Linked DNA regions of Homo sapiens: regions 2, 3 and 4 are each linked to region 1. Evidence: promoter capture Hi-C in 16 types of primary human blood cells and fetal thymus (Javierre and others, 2016). All regions are on one chromosome and are shown on one strand. Each heading gives the region's core, a stretch centred on a gene start or on the middle of the fragment in contact. The rest is flanking DNA. Distances are from core to core; before and after follow the strand shown. Region 1 holds the start of WBP11 (WW domain binding protein 11). Region 2 overlaps ATF7IP (activating transcription factor 7 interacting protein). Region 3 overlaps PLBD1 (phospholipase B domain containing 1). Region 4 overlaps PLBD1 (phospholipase B domain containing 1).

Evidence for each region. Contacts are between HindIII fragments. The CHiCAGO score rates a contact against its expected background, and 5 or more counts as called.
Region 2: a fragment that was not itself captured here is called in contact with the fragment with the promoter of WBP11 in region 1 in 1 of 17 cell types (neutrophils); the score reaches 6.1 in neutrophils.
Region 3: a fragment that was not itself captured here is called in contact with the fragment with the promoter of WBP11 in region 1 in 1 of 17 cell types (neutrophils); the score reaches 5.0 in neutrophils.
Region 4: a contact is called between a fragment that was not itself captured here and the fragment with the promoter of WBP11 in region 1, in 1 of 17 cell types (neutrophils). The highest score is 6.7, in neutrophils.

The regions. Positions count from the first base shown.
Region 1 is chr12:14,800,807-14,806,742 of GRCh38, reverse strand. WBP11 (WW domain binding protein 11) reads left to right here and starts at 3,265. Exons shown (of 12, transcript NM_016312.3): 1 at 3,265-3,391; 2 at 5,315-5,423. The coding sequence starts at 5,360. It overlaps C12orf60 (chromosome 12 open reading frame 60), which reads right to left and starts at 3,073. Exons shown (of 2, transcript NM_175874.4): 1 at 2,992-3,073. SMCO3 (single-pass membrane protein with coiled-coil domains 3) reads left to right here. Exons shown (of 2, transcript NM_001013698.2): 2 at 47-2,093. The coding sequence starts at 63. The coding sequence ends at 740. RefSeq lists an enhancer at 2,730-2,969. The HindIII fragment of the contact is 2,157 bases long and covers 1,583-3,739 here.
Region 2 is chr12:14,499,324-14,505,259 of GRCh38, reverse strand. It overlaps ATF7IP (activating transcription factor 7 interacting protein), which reads right to left. Exons shown (of 15, transcript NM_018179.5): 15 at 2,330-5,936. PLBD1 (phospholipase B domain containing 1) reads left to right here. Exons shown (of 11, transcript NM_024829.6): 11 at 1,306-1,599. The coding sequence ends at 1,488. Among named protein-coding and RNA genes, the nearest start is that of PLBD1-AS2, 28 kb to the left of the region's middle. The HindIII fragment of the contact is 2,437 bases long and covers 2,084-4,520 here.
Region 3 is chr12:14,518,849-14,524,784 of GRCh38, reverse strand. All of the region lies in intron 6 of PLBD1 (phospholipase B domain containing 1), which reads left to right. Among named protein-coding and RNA genes, the nearest start is that of PLBD1-AS2, 8.3 kb to the left of the region's middle. The HindIII fragment of the contact is 753 bases long and covers 1,855-2,607 here.
Region 4 is chr12:14,538,286-14,544,221 of GRCh38, reverse strand. PLBD1 (phospholipase B domain containing 1) reads left to right here. Exons shown (of 11, transcript NM_024829.6): 3 at 1,931-2,014; 4 at 3,320-3,458. It overlaps PLBD1-AS2 (PLBD1 antisense RNA 2), which reads right to left. Exons shown (of 5, transcript NR_187784.1): 4 at 2,973-3,131; 5 at 647-784. Among named protein-coding and RNA genes, the nearest start is that of PLBD1-AS2, 11 kb to the right of the region's middle. The HindIII fragment of the contact is 4,455 bases long and covers 1-3,477 here.

The sequences.
Region 1 (5,936 bases), core at 2,016-4,515:
ACATTTTTTAAGACTTTCAGTAAAAATTTACCATTTTATTTTTCAGCGATCATATTGGAAATATGGCCCAAAGTGACTTCCTTTACCCAGAGAACCCAAAAAGGCGGGAAGAAGTAAATCGTCTTCACCAGCAGCTTCTTGATTGCTTATCTGACAGCTTCGATGTCACCAATAAGCTGACTGAGGTTCTAAATATGCACTTGGGGTGCAGGCTGGCCTCCATTGAGATGAAAAGAGATGGGACCATCAAAGAAAACTGTGACCTCATCATCCAAGCCATTATGAAAATCCAAAAGGAATTGCAGAAGGTTGATGAAGCACTAAAAGATAAGCTAGAGCCAACCCTCTATAGAAAACTTCAGGATATTAAGGAAAAGGAAACAGACAAAATTGCAATAGTGCAAAAGGTTATTTCGGTCATCCTGGGAGAAGCTACATCTGCAGCCAGTGCAGTCGCTGTTAAACTTGTGGGCTCAAATGTCACAACTGGCATAATTAACAAGTTGGTCACTGTGTTAGCTCAAATTGGTGCTTCTCTCCTTGGTAGTATTGGAGTTGCTGTTCTTGGCCTTGGCATAGATATGATTGTCCGTGCCATCCTGGGAGCAGTGGAAAAAACACAGCTTCAAGCAGCCATCAAAAGTTATGAGAAGCATCTGGTGGAGTTCAAATCAGCCTCAGAAAAATATAATCATGCCATTACTGAGGTCATCAATACAGTGAAACACCAAATGAAATGAACAGCCGTTTTATTTGCCACTGAAGTGTTTTTCTGCTTCCTTTTCAGTAACAGTGTTTGCTTCTTTGATTAGGTTCATTTTCTATAGGCTTCCAATATGGACTTAAATAAGATAAACAATTTGGAGAGGGAAACTGGAGATGCCAAGACTAGATGACTAGATGAGTTTTGAGTCAACAATGCCTGGATCAGCTGATGCTAGACCCTGTGAGGTAAAAAAATTTTCTCCCTGGATGTTTTCACACCCTGCTCTACCAGATCAACATTGGGGTAAATGCTATCGTAGAGTAGCAAGTATAGGGGTTACTTTTCTCTTTTCTAATTTCAGTAAAATTCTTAAATTTCACATTGAATGCAGAGACTTTCATTTCTACCACCAGCTTCAAACATCATTTAGTTATAAGGGGACATACTCAGTAACTTCTGCCTAGACACAAACTCTAGGCCTTCGAATGAGACAGAAATACTACCATATTTTTGACCATCAGAGTAAATCTGGTTTTCTGTAAACTAGAAGAGACTGAAAAATGGTTTGTAACAATGTGCTTCAATTAGGACAGGAAGCTGATCTGTAAACGTCTACTGATTACACAATGTAAACCGGATGGATTTGAAAATGGTAAAAATCAAAACTAAAAACATCAAGGTCCTGTTTCAGTCACTGCAATCAACCCTGACCAACTGTGATAATTAAATATCGCTCAAGTGAATGTTCAAACACTGAAACATTTAGAAGACAAGAAAGCAAAACACAGCTACACATATTGCATTTAGGATGCAGAATAGAAGGTCACTACTCAAAGCATTTGTCATTTAAAAGAAAGTCATAATTTATTATAAGCTTTCAGAAAAAAGAATATAATTTCATTTTCAACACTAGCAAAAAGGAGGCAGCTGCCTTTGCTACATGACGCATTAGGTGGGCCATTTCACTAATTACCTGATTTTAGAAAACGCCAAAGGCTATGGAAGCCTATTAATGGTTCCGCTGAATCTCTGCAGATGTGTTTGTTTTCTAAATCCTTTGCCAACCAATAATTCCCATGAGGACTCTTTTAGTCTATACTGACAAAATTATTAATATGCTGTTGATGCCAGACTGTGTTTGTTATAGTTGATTCTCCCATCCAAGTACAAGAAATGTATTGAAATAAAAACTGCTCAGCATATCTTAAAAATAGTAGCTACATATAAAATTTTAGCTACATGAAAGACTTTAATATTTCCAACATACACTGTTTTCTCTTTCTCTTCTTGCATTGTTTTTCAAAACGAGTTGCAAAACTATGATCACTAATGTGTTAGGAAAGAAAAAAAACTAGTTGCAAAACATTACAACTTAGCTCACCTTCGCAGTTCAAGATTATTTTCTTTTTTATGTACTACCTGGTTTATCAGCTTTAACCTACAATATCTCGTCATTGCTTTCTGACACTCAAATTCAGTCTAAAATCAAATCAAGAATTTCCTAACACAAAGGTAAGTTTAGGTATAGGACCGATCTTATACCTTCAAGGGCAGTTTAAAGATTCTGCTAAAAATTAGTATGTATCTCCATCAATATTTTGAAATATTTATAACTGGTGGTAAGAATAGCCTTCCTACATGGGATAGTCAGGTTAAGATTAGAAATAACCAAGCGTATCCTCTAAGATAGTTTTTTAAATGTTTAAACTTACCTTTAAGGGAAATAAGTGGGGGCTGACTCACGGAAAGAGGGGATAGAAGGTAGGGAAAGGGCGAAGGCTAGAGTTAAGTGAAGAATCCCGTACGTAGAGTGACATCATAGAGGACTTTTGGCTGGTGAAAAGACCAGTCGGGAATATAGCCAATATATATCAACCTTGCCACTCATATAACTTAAAACCGACTGCATATGTATCCCCGTATTTCTTCTTCAAAACACTACTAACAAATAATAAATCACCGCCCATATAAGCAATCTGCGACTCTAATACGGGTGCTAATTTATTTGTTCAGGTGGTCTACAAACGTTCTGTTCTGCCTGTCTATTAAATTTCCACACGTACTAGGCGCTCACATGGGATAACCTGATGCTTACAAAGCGGATTAAACTCAGTGGCAAATGTTATCTGGGTATTCGTTTACACACGGAGACACCCCTAAAGGATCGCACCTGCTTGGGTCATAAGAAACAGAAAAATGCAAAAACTAAGGTAATTCCAAAAGACAGAAAACGCAGAACGCTTCTTTATCTGCAGAATGTACCGTTCTCGGACGGCTCAACGTACCAGGCTCCCAGCAACTAAGTCAAGATGCCTCCAACTCGAGAGACAGGACCGTCAGCCACTCAGTTAGCAGCTATCTTCTTCTAATTCCTATTGTACTAGATGAGCGCAATGAGGCGGGCTCTTAGCCGACAACCAACCAATTGAGTATTGTATGGAACCGGAAGAGACTCTGGTCCTGGAATTCTTGGGTATTCTCTATGGTTCCAGGGTCAAGCGGCGCTAAGAGAAGGCGGGACAGAGGAATGGGAAATGACGTGAGGAGTGCGGAGGGGCGCGAGGTTTCAAGATGGCGGTAGCTGAGGGGTTGACCGAGAGACCCAGTTGAAGGCCTTTACGAAGTGAAAGAGGCCGGGAGTCGCCCCCTACCCGCTTCTCGTAGTCCTGGGAGCACAGCAGAAGTGTGAGTGTATTGAATTGATTTACTACTCTTCCTCACCTCTTTCGTCCCTTCCACGTCCCGCGCAGCGGCTTGGGGGACACCCAGCCCCTTTGCCCCGCTCCTCCTCTCCCTGGTTGAGGTCTCCCTGTTGCGGACTGGGCTATTCCTGGGCCTGGGGTGGCGCGGCGACCAGTGGTTGCGCGGTTGGCATCGCCCGGGTCGGTTGGGGCCGCTTCTTACGCACGTTGATTAGTAGCCTTAGGTTTGACGTCTTGTACCTCGAGTCATGGTCGGTCAGCCGTCGCTATGGTTTCGTCAGTTGCTGGTGTTGCCTCCTTTGGTGAACCTGGACCCTATCCCATTGAAGCTTCTTTGGCTGTTTAGAGTTATCCAACGCTTATTTGGCTTGATTTTCCAGTCGCCTCCGCTTGTAGACAAAAAACTAATCTGCAGACTTAAGCTCCAGTGTCTTCCGTAAAATTCTCTGTAATTCGTATCCGTTGTGTTTCATTTGTGGGGGAGGAGATTCAGAACATGAGCCTGAGGAAACTTGAGAAAGGAAAGCACAAAAAACGCAGGCAATCAAAGATGGGAGAGCTTGTATATGTACTGATTTTGCTTGTTTTCCTCCTTCCCTACCTCCTACTCCCTGCTGCTCTCCCACCCCCCTAACCCCCCCATCCCCAGTTTTTCTTAGAAGGAAACCACTTGACAGGGTGTATGGTAGCTAGGCCAGGAATATGGATCCATTATAAAGATTTTAGTTAAGTAGTGAGTCAAACATCACAGGATATTTTATTTGTAATCTCATTGTATCATCAGAGCTTTGTTATAAAGTAATTGATGTCCCCATTTTTTAGATGAGGAAGCTAAAAATCAGAGCCTTTGATACCGCTGTCTTGAAGTAATTGCCACCAGAACAGCTGTGAAACATCTGGCTTTCTGAAACATCTGGCTTTCGGGGCAGTTGGACACTTGGTGAAAGAGACATTAACTGTAATAAACTGGGCTGACAAAATCTTCCCTTTCTTACCTTTAAAAAGTGTCTACTTGCAAAAGGAAGCAAATTTGTCCGCCTTTATTACTGGAAAGACTGCGCTTCAAAAAATTAAGCCCCATTATTTTGGAATAAGAGGAAGAAGTCATGTAATAGGGTACTGTGTTAATAAAAGTTTTAGCTTACAAAATATTTTTTCCTCAAACAAAAATAAGTATTCCCTTTAATTACCTTAAGAAATATATATTGGGAGTCAGGTCTTAGTAAGAAAAATATGTGTCTTAATATTTAAGTTTTGGGGAGCTCTCAGTATAGCACTAATTTCAAATATTTGCATTTTTAGTTGTGTTTTGAACTCTTGAGAGTCAAGCATTATATCTGAACTAGAACTGAATCTGAATTAAATATGCTTAAATTAATGAGTTTTTAGTGTCTTAGAAGTATTGAGAATGTACAGCATACATGCCAAGAAAAACCATGGAGAGAGGCAAAGGTGAGGTATGTGTTTTGAGCCTAGATCCATTACCCCCATTCCCTTCTTATTCTTCTTTTACAATTACATGTTAATAAAGGGAGGTTATAGAAGAAGGACTAATGAATTCTGATGTTCATGGTTTGTGCCATATCGTTAAAGCATTTTCTAGTTGTTTTTATCAGTTGACAAAGTCAGTGCTGTGATCCATAAGAAAAAAGCTAAACTGATGACTTGAGGATATTCAAAGTGGTCTTCACACTCATCACATTTCTGAAGAATGATAGAGATCTAAATTTTCATGGTCAAGAAAGGTGATGCCATCTTTCTTGGACATTAAAGTCAAAACTAAGGAAAGAACAGTCTCACAGAATTTCTAATTAAAGGAATTTTTTTTCAGAGATTGGTAGGGACTAGAAAAAGGAAGAAATACATTTAGGAGATATAAGCTATTTCTTTGTCTTCACCTTCACAGGTTTTTCTTTTTTTAATGAACAAGTAAACCATACAAATTGTCAACATGGGACGGAGATCTACATCATCCACCAAGAGTGGAAAATTTATGAACCCCACAGACCAAGCCCGTAAGTGTCCATTAGTGTGGAATGATGAAGTAGGAGAGTGTTAAAAATTGCAAATATTAGGGAATTTCTTTCTCTGTGGCTTAATTACAAGACCAGCAGTGATAGGAGGAATAAATTATATATTCAGGGTTTGTATGGGCACATTAAGACTTTAAATATGCAAAGAAATTAGTACCCGTATTTTATTTTTCAAATTTGATTGACTTGCAAAGTAGAATTGGCTGAAATCTTTCTTTTTATATTGGAAATTTTGAGCAAATTAGTTTTGCGAGCCCTTGTTTCGCGTTTTATGTTATGTTTTTCCTTCAGATTCATAGTTGTTTTTTATGAAACATTAAACAAAAATGTCTTGACATTTTTGGTTGTCATAATTAGAGGGATGCTCTTGGCATGTAGTGGAGAGAATCCAAAGATGCTGCTCTTTTACAGTGCATACTGTAACTTTCCACAATAAAGAATTACCTGTATTAAATTGGAGGAAATGCTAATGTTCAAGATTCAAAGATTTTATTA
Region 2 (5,936 bases), core at 2,053-4,552, 300 kb after region 1:
GTTGCACATGATTCTCTATCAGCCTAATACCTAAACAGGAAATGCTTTAAAGTATCCTAAGTTCCAGCTCAACCTTCTTTTTAGCTATGTGATGAAGGCAAAGCTTTAGCCGTAATGACTCTCAATGTTAACATTAAAAAAAAAAAAAAAAAAGGTAGACGTAGAGAAGCTGGCACAGATGAAACCCCAATGAATGTTTTTGTATTCCTTTTTTAAAATGGCATTTGCAAACATTCAGTCAATGTGTGAAGTTTGTATCTATCACAGAATACACAAAGAAAATCACCTCTGCTGCCTTGCCTGGGAGAACTCAAGCCAAGCTTCCCTCTACCAAATCTCACTTCTGGAGACAGAGGCCTGCAATTGTTCTTATCAGAAAGTTTCTGTTGAAGGATATTCTTTAAAAATGTAATTTATCTCTTTAGAGTCATTTTGAATATGGGGAAAAGAAGAAGAGATTCTCTTTCCCCTCTAAGATTAAGACCCACTGCTAGCCAGTTGTTAGGTGTTTTTGAGAACCACGGCCCTCAATTTTTGACAGTGAGCTCTATCTACTTTCAGACTCTTGTTACCACCCTGATTAATAACAACTTTTTCTAAGAACTTCATCTATTCTAGGCATTACTTTGAGCATTGCTTGCATTAATCCTCATGCCAACTCTATGAAGTAGGGTTATCAGCCCATTTTACAAAGGAGAACACTGATTCATAGAGGGGTTAAGTGATTTTTAAATAAGCTTTGGAGCTAGAATTCTGAATATGAGTAATCTGACTTCATATCTCACTTTTGGCTACATTGTTCATTTCACACACTTCTAGTCAACTGACATTTAAGCCAAATGTATACAGAAGACTGTATCATATAAAGACAATGTGAAAAATGGCAAGAAAATTTTGTTTTAAAGAAGGCGGCCTGGCGCGGTGGCTCATGCCTGTAATCCCAGCACTTTGGGAGGCTGAGGCGGGCGGATCACCTGAGATCAGGAGTTCGAGACCAGTTTGGCCAACAAGGCAAAACCCCATCTCTACTAAAAATATAAAAATTACCTGGGTGTGGTGGCCCATCCACGTAATCCTAGCTACTTGGGAGGCTGAGGCAGGAGAATTGCTTGAACCTGGGAGGCAGAGGTTGCAATGAGCTGAGATTGTGCCACTGTACTCCAGTCTGGGCAACAAGAGCGAAACTCCGACTCAAAAAAAAAGCTAATATTGTGACTTTGGTAGTGGGAGAGTGGGGAAGGCCATGGATTTAATTTTTTGCTGAACGATGATTTTCTAAAATGTCCTCCTCCTCCCTCTTTCCAGGTGGCAGATATCTACCTAGCATCTCAGTACACATCCTATGCCATAAGTGGTCCCACAGTACAAGGTGGCCTCCCTGTTTTTCGCTGGGACCGTTTCAACAAAACTCTACATCAGGGCATGCCAGAGGTCTACAACTTTGATTTTATTACCATGAAACCAATTTTGAAACTTGATATAAAATGAAGGAGGGAGATGACGGACTAGAAGACTGTAAATAAGATACCAAAGGCACTATTTTAGCTATGTTTTTCCCATCAGAATTATGCAATAAAATATATTAATTTGTCACTTTCATTTCCCACTGACTTTGTTGTTTTTACAGTAAGCACTCACTATAAGGTAGAGCACTGTAGAAGAAATGTTACATATATATATAAATAACACTAAGCTTCGGCATACATGCTAATACACAAGAGGGTATGGAAGAAACAGCTCCTTCATTCACCAGAATTCATGTTCTCCTTTCACGCCTGCTCACACAGACCACATCTCCCAGTGTCCCTCAGATAGTTGTGCCACATGACAATTCTAGCCATTGGAACCTGAGACGAGTGCCACTTCCAGGCCTCGCCCATAAGAATCTGTACTCCTCCTATGCTCTTTCCCCTTTCCCTGGATGAATATGCCTAATGACAAAACCCTAGGGGATGCTGGAGCTTCGTTTTCAAAGGAACCTCTAGTAGTAGTTGGTGATTGTAGTTAGTGATTTTTCTGGTCATTAACAGGCATAAGTTGAGTCTTTTTGTGATGTAGGTTAGGCATACAATACAGTAAAGCTTACTGTTGCCTCCTATAAGCTAAAAGCACCTATACAATCTGGCAGCAACCCTGCATAGCAACTTTCTTTCGAAACTGGAGAGTTACATGTGATCTGAGTGCCATGGAATTGCCAAGTAGATTAAATAAGCCATACCATACAGTATGTAATGGGTGATTCTAAACAAGGTGGAAGATTCTTAAAAAAGAAAGAAAGAAAAAAAGCCACAAGGGTGAATAACCAGAATTAATCAGAGTACTCAGAATGTTAAAAACCCAGTAGTTTTATTTCAAAGTATAAATTTCAGGCTTGCTGGACAAAACCCCACTACAGGTAACACTTATACAGACACCACTCTACTATACATTTAAAAAAGAAAAACACACACACGCACGCACACACACACACAAACCTTCAAAACCCTAATAAAAATAGGGCCACTTGCTGGAGCCCAGTTTGTATTAGACATTAGGAAGGTCTTACTTACATTGTCTTATTATTTACACTTTCAATTGCAATAAAGAAAAATTAGGATGCAAGTTTCTTACAAAGGATTTTTATATTTAATTTTAAAATGGCTGATAAAATACTAAAGCCAGAATCCCCAAAAGGTGTTTGATTGCCCAGTTACCTTATTTACAAAACAAAACAAAACAAAAACAGACAAAAACAAAGACCTCAAAAAAATAATAAAGACGGCATTTAAATATGGGTACTTAGCTGACTCTACAAATAAAAAACAAAGAAAAGTTTATTTTAACATGGTAAATTATTTGAAAATGAGAAAACAAAACATGTGTTTGCATTATCCTATTCCTCCCCATTGGCTGGCTCAAGGGGATGAATGAGTTTCAGGAATTAGACAAGTCTGCCACACTAACAAACGCTTCATGAGAATTGCTGATTTTTGTGTGTCCCAAAAGTTAAAAATAATAATAATTAAAAAAATAGGGCATTTGCCCAGTAAAAATAGTAAGGAAGGTAGAATCACACATCGGTTTTAGAGTTATTTGATATTGCAAATACTGGGACTTGACTTTTCTGGAAATTAGAATAAAACAGGCCAACCACAGGTCAGTGATAAAACAACAAAATCTTAGGATGTTGAGGATACTGAATTGGCCCAAGAAATAAAGTCAAGGAGAACATTTGGAAGGAAGGTCTTTGCAGTACCTTACTGTGCTAAAATCACAGAGTAAAAAAGTGAGAGATGAGGATACCACAGGCATTACTTTGTTGACCTTGTACAGTACTGGAAAGTTCATGAAACAAGATAAATGAATACCATGCAGTATTAACCCTAACCATGTTGCATAAATGGTAATTTGGAGAATATTTAAAGCAAAAGAGCAAACAACAAAAACTAAGTTAACACTTACCCAGTGCAGTAAGGGAATTGTAAGATACAGCCTGCTTAAGGAGGTCTGCAGACAGATGCACCTAAGATTTCAGCTGTTTTAGGTCACTTTTCTCAAAATATTTATTATCTGGCAATGGGGATGGGAGTGGGGAACACCTCTCTGTGAGGCAAATGGTATCTCAACAAATACCGACTTTTCAAGGAAGAAAGCTCTCCACTTCTCTCATAAACTTATATACTACCTTAAACAGTATGCAGTATTCGGCATATTTTTTAAAAATGAGTCCAGAGAAATAGAAGGATATAGTTACCTCATAAAGTTAACTGTTAGCAACAGACGTCTTCGTATGTGATTTATAAATTTCTTGGCAAGAACAAGATTTTTAGAAGAGGCTTACTCACACTTAAGACAGAGTGAAAATTACTCTCACAGAATGCAAAGTATAGAATAATAAACATCACCATTACCTTTAAATGCCATACAAACATCCTACATTGCAGGTTGCAGTATCAGGTTTCCAGAATTTCCAATAAGGCAATACCTACACAAATATTGCCAGGCTAAAAATGTAGCAAACTTGCATTCCCAAACTGGGAGAATCTAGCTTATTTGTAATACTTTGTGAAAAGATACTATGAAACTAAAAAGGTAACCGTGGAGTGGAAACTGCTACTAGAAAGTCTGTTATCAGTAGCTACTTCTACTTAAGTCCTCCATTCTCTCCCAGAAGAAACAAACCAAACAAAAAGCATCTATCAATATTAAAACCTGCCTCAATAAAAGCCTAGTGTTCTAACTTAGCACCTCTAGTAAATCTAATATAGCTGCTGCCCCTACGTGCCATGGTAGGCTAATTTGAGGACACCATCTTATAATAAATATACTTCTCCCCTAAATAATTGCGATTTCTCCCTGTACCTTCCTTCCAACTGGAATAAAACATTTTAAGTAGTTATTTTACTTTAGTAAATATTTTTAGAATTCCTATTTGAGAATTTGTTTTCCTTTGACAGAAAACATAATATAGGCTAGGCTAATGAATTTTTTTTTTATTCTACTGGGCTTTCTTCATCTGATTATATAATGCTATGAAAGCTTTTTTTAAAAAAGATTAGTAAATATAAATAAAAATGTTCATCAAGAGAACCTTTTGTAGGTTAGGTAAGAAAATTGTTACCACGTGACCATAAAAACACCCAATAAAGAACAATTTGAACATGGGCCTTCAGTTTTGTAGACAGGAATAATCTTGAACACATATCAACATTGCAACCACTGCAGGTCAAAACATATACATGCAGATATAGACAGGTGTTCATATACATCTAGAAGATCATCAACTCCTCCTTTCTGAAATTTTCATTGCCATAACACTGGCAACTTCTTTACCATCATCATTAGTCCTAGAATGAGTAATATCTACATAATTGGTTGGCAAATTTGATTTATAGCATACTCCTTTGTGGTCTCATTTTCTGAGAGTGAAAGGTGGTTTGGAGAATTAATTTTTTGGCAATCTATAGGCTTTCTTCATCATGAATCAAATCTCACACCTCAGTATACTGACCAGTCAAAAGTCTCTAAAGAGTTTTCTTTACAACTAGAATACTTCCTATTATAAGCCATCAAAGTTGCAAACAAAACAACATTAGTAAAAGAGCTCCCTCCTGTAATTCTAGGAAAAATGAATCACTATTTTGAGAAGGTACAAATATGAATTCAAATATTGTAAAGGAAGAGGACTTCGAAGTTATTTCACAAACTCCATAAATTCCTTTCAAAATATTCTCAACCACATTCTCCTCCTAAAACTTAACTCAGCCCTCCAGTCCTAAATTATCTACACCCAAAACACCTACCTGACACCAGTACAGCTGGCCCTCATATTAAAAATCCATGACCTAAGCTGAATTTTAATAACTTTGAAGAGGAACAGAGAGATACACAGGAGGTTATATCTAATTGTTACATAAAATGACCTCAAAGGATATACTTTAAATTCTTTTTTTTTTGAGGCAGAGTTTCGCTCTTGTCTCCCAGGATGGAGTGCAATGGCGCAATCTCAGCTCACTGCAACCTCCGCCTCCCGGGTTCAAGCGATTCTCCAGCCTTGCCTCCTGAGTAGCTGGGATTACAGGCATGCACCAACATGCCCAGCTAATTCTGGGATATACTTTAAATTCTATCCAAAGCTAACAATGGGTACATCAGACTCAACTTGGCACCATCAAAACAAAGTTAAAAGGTTAAAATGGGAAGGACGATAAAGAGAATAAAGAGGAAATGAAGCTTTCCCCTTGATATTTTAGCTCATTCTATATTGTAATCTTACTATTTGCTTCCTTTGAAAGAATACTAAGGAGTTAGTGTTGGGTGATAGCTTTGGGTGATAAACTGAACTAGAATGGTTTTCATAATCTCTAACACAGTGTGCAACACGGATACTAAAATGTGTGAAAAACTGTCTTCCACAATATGGTTTTCTCTTGGTCCACTTTACACAAAGTTAAATA
Region 3 (5,936 bases), core at 982-3,481, 280 kb after region 1:
CGCTAAACCCAATATCAAGACCTACTTGGAAACAGTTTCCAGTGACTTAAGTGTGGGGTCGTACCTTCCTTTTTCTTTTGAGGTGACAAATATAGCAAATACCATGACTTGATCATTACACAATGTATATACATATTTAGTATATTCTTCACCGCAAACATTTATCAGTTCCTTATGGCAAGAACGTTCAAAATCCTCTTTTATAGTTATTTTGAAATATGTAACACAATATTGTTAACTGTAGTGCCTGGTAATTTTTGGTTGAAATGTGGACTTGAAAAATAGCACACCATAGTGTCTCTGAAATGTGTATTTTTGAGAATTATGTTTTATTTTATTTTTAAATGACATATAATTGTACATATTTATAGGGGACAGTGTGATGTTTTGATGCATGTATACATTGTGTAGTGAACAAATCATGGTATTTAGAATATTCATCACTTCAAACATTTATCACTTTCTAATGGTAAGGACATTCAAAAATCTCTCTTCTAGTTATTTAAAATATATAATATAGTATTGTTAACTATAGTAAGCCTACTGTGCAATAGAATACCGCAACTTTCTCCTTCTATCTAACTGTAATTTTGTACCTGTTGATTAAGCCCTTTCCACCTTGCCTACCCTCCCCAGCTGCTGGTAAGCATTGTTCTTCTCTATACTTGTATGAGATCGGCTTTTATAGATTCCACATCTGAGTGAGATTGTGGAGTATTTGTCTTTCTGTGCCTGGCTTATTTCATTTAACATAATGCCCTCAGGGCTCATCCACATTGCTACACATGACATAATTTGATCCTTTTTATGGCTGAATAGTATTCCATTATATGTATATGTATCATATTTTCTTTATCCATTCATCTGTTGATAGCCATTTAGGTTGATTCCATATCTTGACTATTGTGAATAGTGCTGCAATAAGCATGAGAGTGTGGATATCTCTTTAACATACTTATTTCATTTCCTTTGGATAAATACCCAGCAAGGGGTCTAGTTTCATTCCTCTCCATGTAGATACCCAGTTTTCCAAGCACCATTTATCAAAGAGAATTTTTTCCAATGTGTGTTCTTAGTGTCTTTGTCAAAAATCAATTAGCTGTAAGTGTGTGAATTTATTTCTGTATTTTTTATTCTGTCTTATTAGTATATATGTCTATTTTTATGCCAGTACTATGCTGTTTTGGTTATTATAACTTTGTAGTATATTTTGAAGCCAGGTAGTGTGATGTTTCCAGCTTTGTTCTTTTTGCTCAAGATTGCTTTGACTATTTGGGGTCTTTTGAGGTTCCATACACATTTAAAGATTTTTTTCTCTTTCTATGAAGAATGTCATTGGTATTTTGATAGAGATTGCACTGAATCTGTCAATTGCTTTGATTAGTATGGACATTTTTTTAAAAATTCCTCAAATCCGTAAACATGGAATATCTTTCCATTTGTATCCTCTTCATTTCTTATGTCAATATTTTATAGGTTTCATCATAGAGATCTTTCACCCGCTTAGTTAAGTGTTTGTTTTTGTAGCTGTAGTAAATGGAATTGCCTTCTTATTTTTTTCTGATTGTCTGCTATTGTCATATAGAAATGCTATAGATTTTTGTATATTGATTTTATATCCTGCAACTGTACTCAATTTACTTATTAGTTCTAACAGTATTTTGGTGAAGTTTTCAGGGTTTTCCCTGTATAAGATTATGTCATTTGGAAGCAGGGACAGTTTGATTTCTGCCTTTTCAATTTGGATGCTCTTTTTGTCTTTCTCTTGCCTGATTGCTTTGGCTAGAACCTCCAGTATTATGTTAAATAAAAGTGGTGCATTTGTGTCTTGTTCCAGATCTTAGAGGAAAAGCTTTCAACTTTTCCCCATTCAGTATGATGCTAGCTGTGAATTTGTCATATATGGGCTTTATTGTGTTGAGTTACATTTCTTGTATATCTGTTTTGTTGAGAGTGTTTATCATGAGGGGATGTTGAATTTTATTAAATATCTTTTCTAGATCAATAGATTCAACATCCCTTCATGGGTTTGTCCTTGATTCTGTTAATATGATGTATTATGTTTATTGATTTGCATATATTGAACCATCCTTGCATCCCTGGAATGAATCCCATTTATTATGGTGAGTGATTTTTCTTAATGTGCTGTTGAATTCAGTTTTTAAATATTTTTTTGAGGAGTTTTGTATCTAGGTTTATTAGGGATATTGGCCAATAGATTTATTTATTTGTTGTGTCCTTATCAGGTTTTGGAATCGGGGTGATGCTGGTCTCATAGAAAGATGTTGGAAGTATTCCCTCCTCTTCATGTCTTTTGAATAGTTTTCAAAGGATTTGTATTAGTTTTTCTTTAATGTTTGGTAGAACTCATCAGTGAGGCCATTGGGTCTTCGGCTTTTCTTTTCTGGAAGACTTTTTATTACTAATTCAATCTCATTACTTGTTATTGGTCTGTTCAAATTTTCTATTTCTTCATGATTCAATTTTCGTTAAGTTTTATGTGCCCAGGAATTTATCCATTTCTTCTAAGTTTTCATATTTGTTGGCATAGAGTTCTCTATATCTCTCTCAAAACTTAAGAAGTTTCTGCTATTATTTTGTGAAGCTTTCTGTGCCCTTCTCCATCTCTTCTCCCTCTCAAGTTTCTATAGTGTGAAAATGTGTTCACTTAATGGTGTCTCATAGGTCTTGTAGGCTTTCTTCACTCTTCAAGCAAAGAGCTGTCTTCAGTTCAGAAATTCTTTATTCTGCTTGGTGTAGTCTGCTGTTGGAACTTTCCATTATATTTTTTATTTCATTCATTAAAGTCTTCAGCTCCAAGAGTTTTTTTTTAATGATATCTCTGTTGAATTCTTTATTCATATCATGATTTGCTTTTCTGATTTTATTGAATTGCCTATCTATATTATCTTGAATCTCATTGATTTTCCTTAAGATCATATTTTTAAATTTTTTATGCAATTAGTAAATTGCCATTTCTTTAAGGTCAGTTATGGGAGAGTTATTGTGTTTTTTTGGTGGTATCATGTTTTCTTGCTTTTTCATATTTCTTGTGTCCCTGCACTGATGTCTGGGCATCTGATAGAATGGATGCCTCTTCCAGTTGTATAGAGTTGTTATCATAGGAAAAGATTTTTGCCTGCAGATGTGTCCTAAGGTGTCGGTTGTGGAGGATGCATTGGCTGTGGTTCCAGGTGGATGCAGTAGTGTAGTCACCATGCAGTTTTTTCAGCTGTAGTCAATGTTAGCAATTTCTATGGATGCCTCAGTGGCATCCTAGCCTGGAGGAGTTTGTATGGCAGCTCTGTCAAATCATATGCATGGCTTTTCTGCTTGTGGCAAGGGTGCCAGTTTGTTTCATGCGCCACGGGTGCACAAGGCCTACTCCAATAGGATTAGACACAGTCTGTCCTCTGGGGGCAGGAGTGCCAGGCTGTTACACACACCGCAAGTGCATAGGGACTGCTCCTTCAGGGTAAGGTGTGGCCTTCCTGCTGGGTAGGATCATCTGTTCCTTGGGCGTCAGGACACCACATGGGCTCAGGCACCAAGGTTATGGCTGTTTCACTGGGCCTATGCTCTGAGTAATTGAGGTTGAGGTGCTGTGCCACAGGGATGGGGAAGATGGAGTGCATCGTAGGCAGCTTATTCCTGGTGGATAGGAAACAGTAGCTGCTCAACTGGTGAGTGGTGTGCTACTGTTTACAAGCACAGTGTACTTGCAGCAGAGCCTCAGGATGGGGAGAAACAAACAGTGGTTACTGGCCCTCCAGAGCACAGTGTACTATAGTAGTGGCACCGGTCTCAAGATAGTGCTGTACATCAGCAGCTTAGATCACAGAGGAGAAGGAGGCACAATGTGGGCTCATTCTTTGGAGTAATACAGCCATGTGAATGCCAGGCAGCTCCCTAGAATGGGTTCATGACTTGTGAAAACTGCAGAATTCTCAAGCAGCAAAGACTGTAGGTGTTTGCATCTTTAATGGAGATTGCTGGGAGTTCTCCTGCTCACGTTTTCTCCGTAGGGAGACTGCCTCCTGGTTTCATACCGACCTTGACTGGGAAGACGAAGTGGCAAAGGCAGAATGTTTCATTCTCTTTTTTATGCAGCCATCCCAAGTCTCCATGCTCCACTGGGTCTCTGCCCCTCCCTTATTGTACTCCTTCGGAACACTTTAGTGTTCTCCTTTGGATACTCTAGTCAAAATGTAGTTGTTTATTCATCATTTTGGTTCCTTTTTTTTTGTAGGGAAATGAATGTTAGGCACCTCTAGTCAGACATCTTGCTGAAGTCACTTGTTTTACTTTTTTTGTTGTTGTTTTTAACAGGCAATTACCTTGCTTGCACTCAAACTTCAACATATGTCACCTGCACAGTGTGCAGCAACCAATGTCCTTCCTCAACACTGCTGCTTCAACCTGGTCTTCTGGAGGTTGCTCCTGCATCTGTGTAATTTAGCAGTCAGTGAAAGATGTTGGCAGCTCAAATTCATATTATAGAGCTAACTCTCTTTGTGATTTCCTTGATCCTAAGGTTTCCCCTATATTCCCATTTGCTTTTCCAGCTCTTACCTTTGTCCTCTGAGAGCCTGAGGAATTTGAGCTGCATATGAGTTGGGAACCCTGGCAGTGTAAGTTGCAGCAAACTCACCTATCTCAGTTCTAGAACATTTCTGTCTTACAAGGGAAAACCCTTCTCATTTCTTTCTGTTTTTACCCTGGGCTCCCTGGCATTTCCCACATTCATGCACAGTTAGTGGTCAGTCAGGGAACAGGACACAGTTCATATTCAGATTTTGGATCTCTGCTCTTCTTGTGGTTCTCTTGCTCCCAAAATTTTCCTCTTAAATTCTCAGCTGTTCTGCAATACTAGACTTTGATCTCACCATCTCAAGCCAGAATGGCTCTAGTTTTCCATAACTAGAGTTGGGTATGGGCTATATATTAGTTTGCTAAGGCTGCCATGACAAAGACTGGGTGGCTTAAACAACAGAAATTAATTATTCTCACAGTTCTAGAAGCTGAGAGTCCAAGATCAAGATATTGACAGGTTTGGTTTATCTCTTTGGCCTACAGATGGCCACCCTCTCACTGTGTCCTCACATGGCCTTTTCTCTGTGTGGGCTATACCTGGCATCACTTCCTCCTTTTTTTTTTTTTTTTTTTAAGATGATGTCTCACTCTGTCATCCAGGCTGGAGTGCAGTGGTGCGATCTCAGCTCACCACAACCTCTGCCTCCCAGGTTCATGTGATTCTCCTGCCTCAGCCTCCCAAGTAGCTGGGACTACAGGTGCATGCCACCACACCCGGCTAATTTTTTGTATTTTTAGTGGAGACAGGGTTTCGCCCTGTTAGCCAGGTGGTCTCGATCTCCTTACCTCATGATCCACCTGCCTCGGCCTCCCAAAGTGCTGGGATTACAGGCATGAGCCACCACGCCCGGCTCACTTCCTCTTCTTATAAGGACACCGGTCATGTTGAATTAGAGTTTGCCCATATGACCTCAGTTGACCTTAATTACCTTTTTAATGCTCTGTATCCAAATATAGTCATATTTTCAGGTACTAGGGGTTAAGACTTCAACATATGAATTTTGAGGAAACAGAATTCAGTCCATATCACGGGTTTAGGAATACACACAGGCAAGGAAGCCTCATACTCCATCTTAACCAATGCTGTACTAATGTTCTGTTTCTCTCTGCCTTTGGTCATTCCTAGTATCTTCAGATCATTGCTTTAAATAATTTTATACAGTTTTATAATTATTATTTGTGGGAAAATCACTCAATTTTATCATGCTGCTATTATTGGAATACTCACCCTTGATACGAGCATTTTTTTTTTGGCTGGGTAATACATAATACCCTAGTGCTTTTCATATTAACAAAGAGTAGCACAAGAGCTCCTTTTAGAAGGTTTTACTAACCTTCAGGCC
Region 4 (5,936 bases), core at 1-2,500, 260 kb after region 1:
AGCCTGGGTGACAGAGCAAGACTCCGTTTCAAAAAAACACAAGTCCTTAGTTGGAAGACACAGCCTTTTAAATTGCTATAATGCAGCAGATGAGACTGCAGACAATTGAAGATAAAGGGAACAATCTTAAAAGCTATTAGAAAGGAAAGACATTAACTACAAAGGAATTTCAGCAGGAAGCATATTGCTGATCATCAGCAATAGTGTCAGAAGATACCAAGATATTATCTTAAAAGTATTGAGGAGAAATATCTTACTAGAATGTTATAACCATTTAAATTATCCAAGAGTAGGGGCAAAATAAGAATATGTTCAGATACATAAATTAAAAGTTTACCACCCAAAGACGTCTATTAAACTGTTAGAGGATATACTTTAGCAAGTATAATAGTAGGGAAGGTGTGGTATATAAGGAACAATCGTTAATACAAGAAACAAAAAATTAATACAATTTAATTGTAAAGGTTAAAAAGAAAATAATTTTTATTTTTTTTCCTGAGATGGAGTCTTGCTCTGTTGCCCAGGCTGGAATGCAATGGCATGATCTTGGCTCACTGCAACCTCCACCTCCCAGGTTTAAGCGATTCTCCTGCCTCAGCCTCCCAAGTAGCTGGGATTACAGGTGCACGCCTCCAGGGCCAGCTAATTTTTTTGTGTGTGTATTTTTAGTAGAGACGGGGTTTCACCATGTTGGCCAGGCTGTTCTCAAACTCCTGACCTCGTGATCTGCCCACCTCAGCCTCCCAAAATGCTGGGATTACAAGTGTGAACCATCGTGCTCGGCCTAAGAAAATAATTTTTAAATCAAAATTTTTAATTAAAAAGGTAAAACTAAATCTTTGAACAATAACATGATGGAGGATGTCAATGGGTAGTTAAAATTTGCTAAAATATGCTTTATGTTTGGAGGAAGAGAGAAATATAAAACTCATTTAGACTTTATAAGAAAATATTAGTTATATCTTTTTAATATTAAGAATAAAAATACATTCTATAGGTTTTAAATCAGCAAAACTGAAAAGAAAATAACAAAAGTATTATCTAAACAAAGAAAACATGAAAGAGGGGACAAATAAAGGGATAGTAAATGGAAAACAGAAAAGATTATAGAGATAAATCCAAGAATGTTAAAATCCCAGTAATATAAGTGGATTATTTTAATCAATTAAAAATATTAACTGTACACCATATGAGACATTTTTAATTTTTTTAAGTTTTAAAATAAAGAATCGCTGCAAGCTCTGCCTCCCAGGTTCATGCCATTCTCCTGCCTCAGCCTCCCGAGTAGCTGGGACTACAGGCGCCCGCCACCACGCCTGGCTAATTTTTTCCATTTTTAGTACAGACGGGGTTTCACCGTGTTAGCCAGGATGGTCTCGATCTCCTGACCTTGTGATCCGCCTGCCTCAGCCTCCCAAAGTGCTGGGATTACAGGCATGAGCCACCGTGCCCAGCCAGTATGATCTTTTTTATAGTGTGTTGCGAACATGATAAATAATTCTATACATTATTTATGGTTAAATGTATATGTAGTAATTGCATAAAAACATGCATGGGAATAATCAGATTCAAGACTGAAGTTATTACCTCTTGGGAGAAGGGAAAACAATTAGCATCAGGAAGTGCACACAGAGGCTTCGACTCAAATTTTTTGTTTGATTTTTAAAATATATGTGGCAAATATGGCAAAATATAATAACTTAATAAAGTTGAGCGGTGAATACTTGGGGTGTTTTCAATATTCTATCCTTTTCTATATGTTGTAAATATTTCCCAATTTGAAACTGTGCATTTATTAAGGAAAAAAAAGATAGTAGGCAGAGTTTGTAATAAGGGACATCCTAGTTAGCCAAATGATTGAATAATTTACTGTGATGGAGAAATCCAAGAAGAAAAATATAAATGTAATAATTTTCATGTATCATTTCAGACACATGAATGACCACTACACAAACCTCTACCCACAGCTGATCACGAAACCTTCCATCATGGATAAAGTGCAGGATTTTATGGAGTACGTATAATAGCTTTTCTCTTTTCATTGTTTTAAATGTTGGAGGCACTGAATCTGTAATTTCAAGCAGCAATTTTTTGCCAATTTCTTTTTAATCTCTTTAGCAGGACTCTAGAGTTATTCTTGTAGTAGGGTATAGCACTTTTTGCTAATGGCATGAAAAGTGGTTGCAGACAACATGCTCTCTAATTTCAGCTCTTTCAAAGGTTGAGTTGAATATCGCATACTCAATTGCTAACACGGTTAGAGGAACATCACCAGTGTAAAGTACCAGTGTTAAGTCCCTGGGTCTGTTCCTCATGGAGGCCCTTCTCCTTTTTTCAGGGATCCCCTCTCCTCGCTCTTTAAGATGTTTCCTTTTCATGAGCCTGCTTACTAATCCTAGCTGAGGTCTTCAATAATATCTAAAGTTATAACTCTTAACACCCTCTGAGAATATTTCCATTTTAATAAAGTTTTCTAAGACTAAAGTTTTAAATGTGTTTACATTTGTGGGATGACAGGAGATTAATTTGGGGACAGAAAGGCTCTTGGGTTGGCCCTCCAAACTGCACTCTAAGCAACCTCTTCATGAAATGCTTAAAGTCCTATAGAGCTTCAGTTAAAAACCACTGGGCTAGATCCCATGAAGCAATGACATTATTCTAAGATTGAGCTAGTGATAGCCTGGACAAGTCAGAAATAGTTTTCAGTACGCAAAGTTATATCAAATCATCCCATAAAAGTTCAGAGAACTGGAAGAAGAGTGAAAGGACCATTAAAAAATGACATTTTTGCTACCATGCTAGGACAGAGGCATTGAAGCGGTTACTAATAACAACTGAAACGGAATGAATCATAAGCTATGCAAATGATCTGAGAGAAATACAAACAGATATAAACCACCTTGTCCTTAGATTTTTGTCCCGTTGTTTAACTTTACTACTTCTACAACTAAAAGTAAGGTGAATCAACCTACCTTTATTGACTTTGTGAAACATTGTGGTTTTACACAAAATGCATTTGGATAGTCTCTCCTTGACATGTTTAGGTCTTGTATCACAGTTAGGTCACTATCACACTTATGCTTTTGTTCTAGATACAGCACAGAAGAAGCTGTGAAAGAAGAATCATAACCCTAGGGAGAAATTAAAAATCAGTTAGAATTTGCCCTGAAGTCCTTTGAGTGACTGGAGTGTTACAAGATCTAGAATTTAAATCACATTAGCATAAGTGTCTGAGTATATAATCTCTCAATGCCTGCTTTGATTTAGCTTTGAATGAGCAACTATTGAGACTGTGGTGCAAATCTAATTTCTCTTCCAGGAAGCAAGATAAGTGGACCCGGAAAAATATCAAAGAATACAAGACTGATTCATTTTGGAGACATACAGGCTATGTGATGGCACAAATAGATGGCCTCTATGTAGGAGCAAAGAAGAGGGCTATATTAGAAGGGACAAAGGTAGGACTTTAAACAAGCTTCTCAGAATTTATAGAGTATGGTAAGAATATTGAATGTTATCTTTAAAATAACATTCCAATTTAGAAGCAGGTCAAAGTAGAACTACAGTATAAATTCCTTACGGAAAAGAACTGTCATAGCTCTCATATTGCAGCACCTAACTTACAAAATTACAAGCCCAAAACACAAATAAGCCAACTTGTTTCTGTGTATTTTCAATCTTCCATAATACTGGGCTCAGGATTAGGTTAAAAAGCATAGTATGAATGTACTGGGTTTTTAGCTAATCTGATAAAACTAGTGTTTTAGACTGCATGCTCATTAAGACAAGATGTTTAAGTATACAAGTTCTATGTTTCCCACACTCCACAACATTCACATAAACACATATCCACACAAACACATATACATTCTAATTCTGGGGGAAAGCTTTACTGAATCACTAAGGCTTCCAATGTACCATTTGATGTACTTCCAAAATTATGGATATTTTATTTCCCGTGATAATATATGTCTAAATGAAAAATGTATATTATATAACTGTCTTTTGGTCTATTTTGCCAGTATATATGTATATAATCTGTATATTATATAACATGTTACATTTATTATGTTTTGTCTATTTTGCCAGTATATATATATATATATATATAAATAATATTTATATTATATAACTCTCTTTTTGCCTATTTTGACCAGTGTGTGTGTGTATATATATATATATATATATATATATATATATATATATATGTGCATAGCTTTTCTTTGAACTTTTTGTCTATTTTGTCCAGTATTTGTATATATATGTATATGTATACATATATACACACATATATACATGTACATGTCTGTGTATATATGTGTGTATATATATGTGTATATACACATATATATTGATAAATGTCAAAACAATAATACCCAGTGAAAGGAATGAGTTACAGAAAAATGCATACAGTAAGACTCTAACTTTTTTTTTTTTAGTCAGAGTCTTGCTTTTTCACCCAGGCTGGAGTGCAGTGGCATGATCTTGGCTCACTGCAACCTCTGCCTCCTGGGTTCAGGTGATTCTCCTGCCTCATCCTCCCGAGTAGCTGGGACTACAAACTTGAGCCACCACACCCAACTAATTTTTGTATTTTTAGTAGAGATGAGGTTTTACCATGTTGGCCAGGCTAGTCTCGAACTCCTGACCTCAAAAGATCCATCCGCCTCAACCTCCCAAAGTGCTGGGATTACAGGTATGAGCCATTGCACCCAGCCCACACAATATGACTGTATTTGTGCAAATTCAAAAAAGGTAGATTTTAAAAAATATATCTTAAAAATATATATAGATGATAAATATATTATATATAGATGATAAATAATAGAGAGGCAGGTAATGAGCTATACAAAATTTAGCATAGTGGTGACCGCTGGCGGGAAAGGAGAGAGATGAGATTGGAGACTTCCAAGGCACTGCTAATGTTCCATTTCGTAAACTGTGAGTTGACTACATCAGTGTTTATTTATTTTTCCTTAAATGGTATGTATACATCTTTATTCTTTCAGATGTATAATATCATCTGTCCTCACTCTTCTAAGCAGTGTTCCAATGTATGGATGTATTATACAGTATAACAAAAGAAATGCAAATATCAATTACAATGGGATACTGTTTTGCACCTATGAGATTGGAAATAAACTAAATGTTTAATATGTTGTTGAGGATGGAAGAGTTTTATTTATTTATTTATTTATTTAGAGACAGAGCCTCGCGATATCACCCAGGCTGGAGGGCAGTGGTTGATCTCAGCTGCAACCTCCGCCTCCTGGACTCAAGCAATTCTCGTGCCTCAGCCTCTTGAGTAGCTGGGATTACAAGCATGCGCCACCATGCCCGGCTAATTTTTGTATTTTTAATAGAGATGGGGTTTCACCGTGTTAGCCAGGCTGGTCTCGAACTCCTGACCTCAGGTGATTCACTGGACTCGGCCTCCCAAAATGCCGGGATTACAGGCATAAGCCACTGTGCCCGGCCAGAAGAGTATAATTTAAACAATTCGTATGAGGACAATTTGGCAATATCTATTAAAATCTAAATCACTTCTAGGAATTTATCCTACACATAGACTCAAACACAAGCAAAATGAAGCGTCCAAGATTAATTATTGTGGCATTGTTTACAATATCAAAAGACTAGAAACCACTTGAAAATTCATCAAAAAAGAGTAGTTAAAAATATTATAATACATCCGTACGTTGGAATGCTGCTTAGGAGAGTGAAGACAGGCTGGGTGCAGTGGCTGACACCTGCAATCCCAGCACTTTGGGAGGCCAAGGTGGGTGGATCACCTGAGGTCAGGAGTTCTAGACCAGCCTAGCCAACATGGTGAAACCCCATCTCTACAAAAAACTACAAAAATTAGCTGGACATGGGGCGGGCACCTGTAATCCCAGCTATTTGGGAAGCCAAGGCAGGAGATTTGCTTGAACTCA